2 separate regions of the Homo sapiens genome follow, and region 1 is linked to region 2. The links are contacts of gene promoters, found by promoter capture Hi-C in human tissues and cell types (Jung and others, 2019). All regions are on one chromosome and are shown on one strand. Each heading gives the region's core, a stretch centred on a gene start or on the middle of the fragment in contact. The rest is flanking DNA. Distances are from core to core; before and after follow the strand shown. Region 1 overlaps LRRC66 (leucine rich repeat containing 66). Region 2 holds the start of SPATA18 (spermatogenesis associated 18).

What was found. Contacts are between HindIII fragments. The study calls those that stand out against the background at their distance.
Region 1: a fragment that was not itself captured here is called in contact with the fragment with the promoter of SPATA18 in region 2 in 2 of the 25 tissues and cell types used here (adrenal gland and bladder).

The regions. Positions count from the first base shown.
Region 1 is chr4:52,009,939-52,013,794 of GRCh38, forward strand. All of the region lies in intron 2 of LRRC66 (leucine rich repeat containing 66), which reads right to left. Among named protein-coding and RNA genes, the nearest start is that of LRRC66, 8.5 kb to the right of the region's middle. The HindIII fragment of the contact is 4,965 bases long and covers 1-3,856 here.
Region 2 is chr4:52,048,884-52,052,943 of GRCh38, forward strand. It overlaps SPATA18 (spermatogenesis associated 18), which reads left to right and starts at 2,421. Exons shown (of 13, transcript NM_145263.4): 1 at 2,421-2,908. The coding sequence starts at 2,822. RefSeq lists enhancers at 2,070-2,571, 2,572-3,071, 2,864-3,213 and a silencer at 2,394-2,693. The HindIII fragment of the contact is 4,960 bases long and covers 1,282-4,060 here.

The sequences.
Region 1 (3,856 bases), core at 644-3,143, 39 kb before region 2:
TAAAATTTTAGCAAATTGAATCCAAAATATATAAAAAAGACAATAAATCATGACAAAATGGAATTCATCCCACGAATGCAAAGTTGATTTAATATTAGAAAATCTACACAATTCTCCAAATTAACAGATTAAAAAAGAAACCCATATGATCATCTCAGTAGATCCAGAAAAGGTCTTGGGCAAACTGGGAATAGAGAGAATTTCATCAACCTGGCATAGAGCATTTATGAAAGATCTAGCAGCTTTATTTTTAATAGCCAAAAAGACAATCTAAGTGTCCATCAACAGATAAATGAATCCACATGATGGAATTCTACACAGCAATGAAAAGGAATGAACCTTTCCCCACAGTTCACAAAATTTTTTCTTTTTGTCTTATTTTTTAAAATAATGTCAACTTTTATTTGCGAGTACATGTGCAGGTTTGTTACACAGGTATATTGCCTGATGCTGAGGGTTTGCAGTACAAATGATCCCATCACCCAGGTAGTGAGCATAGTACTCAATAGGTAGTTTTTCAGCTTTAGTCTCCCTCCTCCCACACTCCTCCTCCTTCTAGTGGTCCCCAGTGTCTATTGTTCCCATCTTTACGTCTGTTTGAACCCAAGATTTAGTTCCCACTTATAAGCGAGAATATATTACTTTGCTTAGGATAATGGCCTGCAGCTACATCCATGTTGCTGCAAACGACATGATTTCATTCTTGTTTAGAGCTGTGTAGGAGACCATGATGTATATGTACCACATTTTCTCTATCCAATCCACTGTTGATGGGCACCTAGGTTGATTCCATGTAGTTGCTATTGTGATTGGTGCTGTGATGAACATATGAGTGCATGTGTCTTTTTTGTAGAATGATTTATTTTTCCTTTGCATATACACCCACTAATGGGCTTGCTAGGTCGAATTGTAATTCTGTTTTTAGTAGGAATGAACTTTTAATATATACAACGACATGGATAAGTCTCAAAATAATTATGCTGAAAAAAGACGTTAGACCAAAAATAAAAGTACATATTGTATGATTCCTTTTATATAAAATTATAGAAATGCAAGTGAATCTATAATGAAACAGAAAGGAGATCAGCGGTTTCCTGGGTTGGGGAGAAGGGATGGGTGGAAAAGACAGATTACAAAGGGGGATGAAGAAGCTTTTGCGGTGACAGACATTACACTTAGTAAATACTCCCTCTGTACTATGAACTTCTTAAGTGCTCTCCCAAGTATGATAACCTGATAACATAAAACAATATTCAGGGATTATGGCTTTTAGTCCAAAGAGCAATAAGAATTGGAATAGAGTCTAGAATGGTCCTGGGTAAGATATTTGATTCATTAGGTCAGATCTTATTGTGGTCAAATTATGTAGGTGAGCCAAAGGCTCTGCCTTCTTAGTTGAGTATCTTATATACTTTTTGTTTTAATTATCTTGATAGTGGTGATGGTTTCATGAGTCAGTGTGGTTCAGAGAGTCAGAGGACAGATCAAAAAGTGCTCTGAAAAAGGAAGAGCAGAGGCTTCCAACATTATGCAGACCTATATAAATATGAACAGAGGCACCCAGACTGTTGGTGAATACTCTAAACATCTGAAGACAGAGAATGAGAATCCCCTTTAATTATCTATTGTGCCTGAAATCAAGGAAGTTACCGTTACAGCAAAGACCAGGGCAGGAAATATAGAATTAAAGACTCAGGACGATCAAGTGGCACTAAAGGGGAACTAATGCTTTTGAACACCTGCTGTGTGCCAGGCACTATGAGAGATGTTTTACATGTATCATCACTCTATGTGTTATAGTCTTGATGCACACTGTCTCTAAACCTTATACCTACCCTATACATATACTTATTCTCAGTTAAAGATAAGGACCAGGAAGCTTTTTTAGGTTAAGTGACTTGTTTAAGGTCAACAAACAAGTAAATAGTGTAATATAAGATGTGTAAAAGAATTACAAGTAAACAGGCTGAGAACGGTGACTGATGCCTGTAATCCCAGCACTTTGGGAGGCTGAGGCAGGCGGATCACTTGAGGTCAGGAGTTCAAAACCAGCCTGGCCAATATGGTGAAACCCCATCTTTACTAAAAATACAAAAAAATTAGCTGGGTGTGGTGGCAGGCACCTGTAATCCCAGCTACATGGAAGGCTAAGGCAGGAGAATCTCTTGAACCCGGGAGGTGGAGGTTGTAGTGAGCTGAGATCATGCCACTGCACTCCAGTCTGGGTGACAAGAGTGAGGCTCCATCTAAAAACAGAAAAAAAAAAGGAGTAAATAAAAAGAGTGGGACCCGAACATACCCAAGCATGTGGGGAGAGGGTGATTTTGATTTTGAATGCAGTTATTAGAGAATCCTCTTATTTAACTCCCCTCATAATATCAAGCTGAGATTTTCCAAGAGGAAGGTAAACTTCTTCTGGAGATGAGAATAAAGACCAGGAAGTTCAGTTTACACCTCCTGAATGAAAACTTTTCCTTTACTTTCAATTTTAGATAATTAAGATTTTATTTTTTTAAGGGAACTGGTACAGACCTGGTTTGTATAGCGTCTCTCAGGATGGAGTTGGGAAATTTAAGAAAACTCTTGCATGGTACTTGACTGCACTTCTCAATGGGAAAATGTATTCTTTTAATATTTTTGCTTGGTAAGCCAATGTTCAGAGGGTAGTCAAATGAGTGAAAAGAGGCTGTATGGTGCATTCACGGCTGGGGCTTGGACATCAGGGGTACATTTTATACTTCAAGAGAGGAGAGTTGAATGCTGGGAGGAAAATATAGAGGTACTCTGTGGAAAGGGAATTATTTATTGAACTGCTTTCTAAAGATTACAAAGGACACACTAGGCAGGAATTTTATTAGCCTTTGCATTTAAGTGGCCAGAGGCAGTTTTATTATTTCCAAGAAATGACCTGTCTCTCAGAAAAAAAGGCCACAGAAAGGATACTCAGACATTACACTTAGTAAATACTCCTTCTGTACTATGAACTTAAGTGCTCTCCCAAGTGTGATAACCTGATAACATAAAACAATATTCAGGGATTATGGCTGTTAGTCCAAAGAGCAATTAAGAATTGGAATAGAGTCTAGAATGGTCCTGGGTAAGATATTCGATTCATTAGGTCAGATCTTATTGTGGTCAAATTATGTAGGTTAGCCAAAGGCCTTGCCTTCTTAGTTTAGTGTCTTATATACTTTTTGTTTCTTTAGAACCTGAATTAGTTTTGAGTACATTGCTTATTGATAATTCCATAATCCAGTAGCAATCAGGATGAAATCTTTAATTTTCTATGAATAAAGGAACACAATATACTTTAGTTTTTTATAATACACTGTGTATTTTTTTTAATTCCCCCAGTTTCAAATGTTAGGTATTATTTTATCTTATTTCTAACACATTTACCTCTTAGGTTCTAGAACTTAGTTGGTTAATGTGAGGCTGCTACATTTGGTCTATCAACCTAACTGGAATCCCAACAAGATGTTGTTCCTGCTGCATTTCCAGTTACTCTGTGAGCACTCCAAAAATACTGCTTGATGAAGGTAGGACAGATTAACCAGAGACTGATCCCATTGTTTTCATGTTTTTAAACTAGTTTTTCAATTATGAATGCTGTATTCCAAAAATATGGGAGGAAGGTAGAAGCATCATTAAAATTAAATTCATGGCTGGCTTCTGTTTTATAAATTGCATTGGCCAGCACCTCTTTTGGGCATTTTCCCAACATGAAGCTTATTGGTGACACCACAACTGACTCTGAAGACAGGGTTAGTTCGTGTGATATCTCACCCTTACACAAATGGGCTTTCCTGAGTGAAAGCAACTTTTCATTGGTTCTAGAAATAGTCCCCATTTTAAA
Region 2 (4,060 bases), core at 1,171-3,670:
CTCTTGAATGCTTTGCTACTTAGAAATTTCTTCTGCCAGATAACCTAAATCATCTCTCTCAAGTTCAAAGTTCCACAAATCTCTAGGTCAGGGGCAAAATGCTGCCAGTCTCTTTGCTAAAACATAAAAAGAGTCACCTTTGCTCCAGTTCCCAACAAATTCCTCATTTCCATCCACCTCAGCCTGGATTTCATAGTCTATATCATTATCAGCATTTTGGTCAAAGCCATTTGACAAGACTCTAGGGAGTTCGAAACGTTCCTACATTTTCCTGTCTTCTTCAGAGTCCTCCAAACTGTTCCAACCTCTGCCTGTTACTCAGTTCCAGAAAGTTACTCAGTTCCTAAAGTGCTCCACATTTTTGGATATATTTTCAGTGGCGCTGCAATCCCCATAAGAATTTACTGTATTAGTTGGTTTACAAGCTGCTGAGACGGGGCAATTTACAAAAGAAAGAGGTTGAATGGACTTACAGTTCCACATGGCGAGGGAGGCCTCACAATCATGGTGGGAGGCAAGGAGGAGCAAGTAACATCTTATATGGGCGGCAGCAAGCTTGTGCAGGGAAAATTCCCTTTTTCAAAACCACCAGATCTTGTGAGACTTACTCACTATCACGAGAATAGTACAGGAAAGACCTGACTCCATGGTTCAATTACCTCTCACTGGACCCCTCCCACAACACGTGGAATCCAAGATGAGATTTTGGCAAGGACTCAGCCAAACCATGTTAGTAACTGTTTGGGGTAACTTTTTTCTGAATAAGTTTTCATACAAACAATTCATATTCATGATAGAAACTTGAAAAAATCAGAAAAATATAAAAGAGCAATTAAAATAACCCACAATTATACCTTGGGTTCACATTGTGTAATTTAACACAGTGTATACAATTTAGTGTTCTGCCTTTTTCGTTATAGTGAAAATTTGTAGATAGTATATATTCTACAACAACAAGATTTTTAGTGTGCAACATTTCATTATTTGCTTAACCATTACCCTATTGTTGGAGGTTTAGATTGTTTACAACTAGTTTTCTTTATTAAATATAAACATACTAATCCACATTCTTAATAATAGCAAATGTAGGCCAGTATTAGTTTATATTTAATAAACAGCAATTACTAGAGCAATTGCTACTGCATTTTGCCAAGCATTGTACTAAATACATGAATTATCTTACTAAGTTTCATAATAATCCTATGAGAGAATTATTTTCCTTTTACAGATGATGAAACCAAGGATTACAGGCTAATTAAGGTGCTCACAGCAAGGAAAAATCCTTTACCTCTAATTTATCTGACATAAATGTTCCAATATGGGTTTTTATGAATAAGTAAATGGGACTGTTCAAAGATTCCAAATGCCTGTAGAAATATGTAATTATTAGGTCCAAATTGAGAAATTTGAAGTTTTTCTCAATTCATTTTACATATATATATATATATATATATATATATATATGAAGTTGTTTAATGAATATTTAGCTGTTTTGTTGAGTGGGTATTTTTAACATTAGAAATTATTATTCTACTCCAATCAAATAACATGTTATACCCCTATAGTCCTTATTTTGTGGTCTACAGAAAATAGTAGGAACACAGGCTCCAAAACTGAGCCTTTCATTTTCATTAGCAGATAGTAAAGCCACTGTAATCAAGAGAAATAAAAAATGAGAGGTGGTGAAAATTCTTGATTTTACAATACTTGAATATATGCAGTGTTCACAGATTTTCAAGTACCTACAGAGATGAAACTAAGTTAAACTAGCTAGCTAACCAGCTGAGGCTCTGCTCCCCACCGCTGTTTTAATGAATGGATAGGAATGATTTATAATCAGCACATTTTTTGATGGTATATAAAAGAGCTTGCTTCGAAAGCGCTTAAAGATGGTCGAAATGGTTTCCTAAGTAGTTGAACCTGTTTCTGTAGCAGAATACACACTTTTGAAATAGTGCCAAACTAGGTCAAGAAAGTCCCAATTAGAGAATTCAGAATTAAATGAAGCTTTAGAGTGCTCAATGACTCTAAAAAAAAAAGTACTAAAATACATACTGCCAAATCTTATCCAAACCTGAGGGATTAACTTTAATTTGTGAACATCCTGGAGCTAAACTCTATTAACTTGGGTACCCACCCAGTGGGTCAAGGAACAAAGTAAAAGCTAGAAGTAAGAAGTACTGAAATTTTAGTTACAAGTTTCATACAGGTAAACCCAAGGCGCTACAAATGAAGAATTAAAGGAATGAAAGGCGAAAGAATAAAGGGGCCAAAGAGGTGATCTCCTGAGAGCCTAGCCCCAAACTTCTATAGAGACTTAACTTCTGCTTTTCTGGACACGCGTGGGCACCCAGAACCCCGAATGGGGAGGAATGCTGTAGACGCCCTGCTGCCCTCCAGCCCGCGCGGCTGCGCGTCTCAGTCCACCCCTGGGGCGCGCGGCTGTCACCCAGGGCGGGGCGGCGCGGGCGTTGCCACGACGCGGGCCGCGCGCGTCCCTGGCAGCCAACCCGTCCACGTCAAGGTTTGTTTAATAATCGCCAGGGTATCTATGGCCGGGCTCAGGCGGCTGCTGGGGAGCCAGGAGACCGCGCGGGACGGCGGATGAGGCGCGGCGGCTGCGGCCCAGGGCACCTCCCCTCTGGCTTCCCGAACCCGGCCAGGTCCGACCCGAGGGGGAGGATGGAAACACCTGCCGCGCTCTGAGCCCCCCAGAAGAGAACACCCTTCCCGCCATATCACCCCACGGTCCTGCGGAGGCCACCGCCTGGTCCCCCCAAGTCTCCATCGCGCAGCGTGGGGCCGAGAGGAATAGTGAGCGATGGCGGAAAACCTGAAAAGACTGGTCTCAAACGAAACTTTACGAACGTTGCAGGAAAAGCTAGACTTCTGGCTGAAGGAGTACAACGTGAGTCTGGGTGAAAAACCCCCGGGGTTCGCCCTCCCATAGGTTCCAGCACAGCCCTTGTCGGGGATTTCTTAGGGCTGGAGTTGGTGGCCACTTTGCAAAGCCTCCGCGGTTGCGATTCCTAACCAGGATCTCAGCTTTCGACCGGGATCGCTGGGGAAGGAAGGACATGTGTGTACATGCCCTTGTCTCAGAGCTTCGGGAGGCGGCGCGCAGGCGGCCTGCGGAGCGCAGCACTAGGCTGCGGAGACTGGAGAGTGCTTCCAATCAGTGGTAACTAAGGACGCCGGCGACCTAGCAATAGGGAAGCCCTGCTGTCCGCGGCTGGTCTGGTCATGCCTGCCACTCTTTCCCATCCCCCTTGCCAGCGCAATCCACACCGCCTGCTTCCCCAATCCCGAATTATTTTTTACTACAACCCTCTCCTGCCCAGGGTTTGTATCAGAATGGATTTGTATAAACACACACCCAGGAGTTATTTACCCAGAAATCAGCGAAACGGACACTTGTTAACGTTGCGGGTTTCACTTGCGTGCTGGTGGGCCTGGAAATTGAGGCACAGTTCCAACACCAGGGCGGATTCAGGCCTTTTTCCAGGCATTTGTGAGAAGCCAGTATTCTGTCACCAAACCCATGAGCACTTTTCAAATCTCATTAATCCCTACTCGCACCCTGCCTCCCCATAATTCCCCCCTTCCCCCAAATAGAACGGTGAGTGTTGAATTTGCTTTACATTCGGTCGGTCCGTCTTAAATAGGGATTTCCCCTCTTACATAATAAGTGGAGCGGCCAGGCAAAAGAACTGTGGACCGGAAATTAGCCCCCCCTTGTTTCTACATTTGGCTCTGCATAGAACTAGCTGAATGACGGAGTCAAATTATTTAACTTCTCTTGGTCTTAGTACCTCATCTGTGAAATAGCAGAGATTGGTCTAGATGATATGTAAATTTCCTGTTCAGATTTTAAGTTTTTGAGCCTAGATTAGCTTGTTTCTGAGATCCTGCCTGTTATGAGGTCCTTAGGCTTCCCCATTCACCCTTTAACCAGTGCTCCTGAAGTGGAGGGGAGCTCAAAGAGCAGCTACAGCTTTCTCCTTAGCCTTCCTTTCTAGTGCTTCCTGTTCAGTCCTTTGCTCCCTTTTAAAGAACAAGC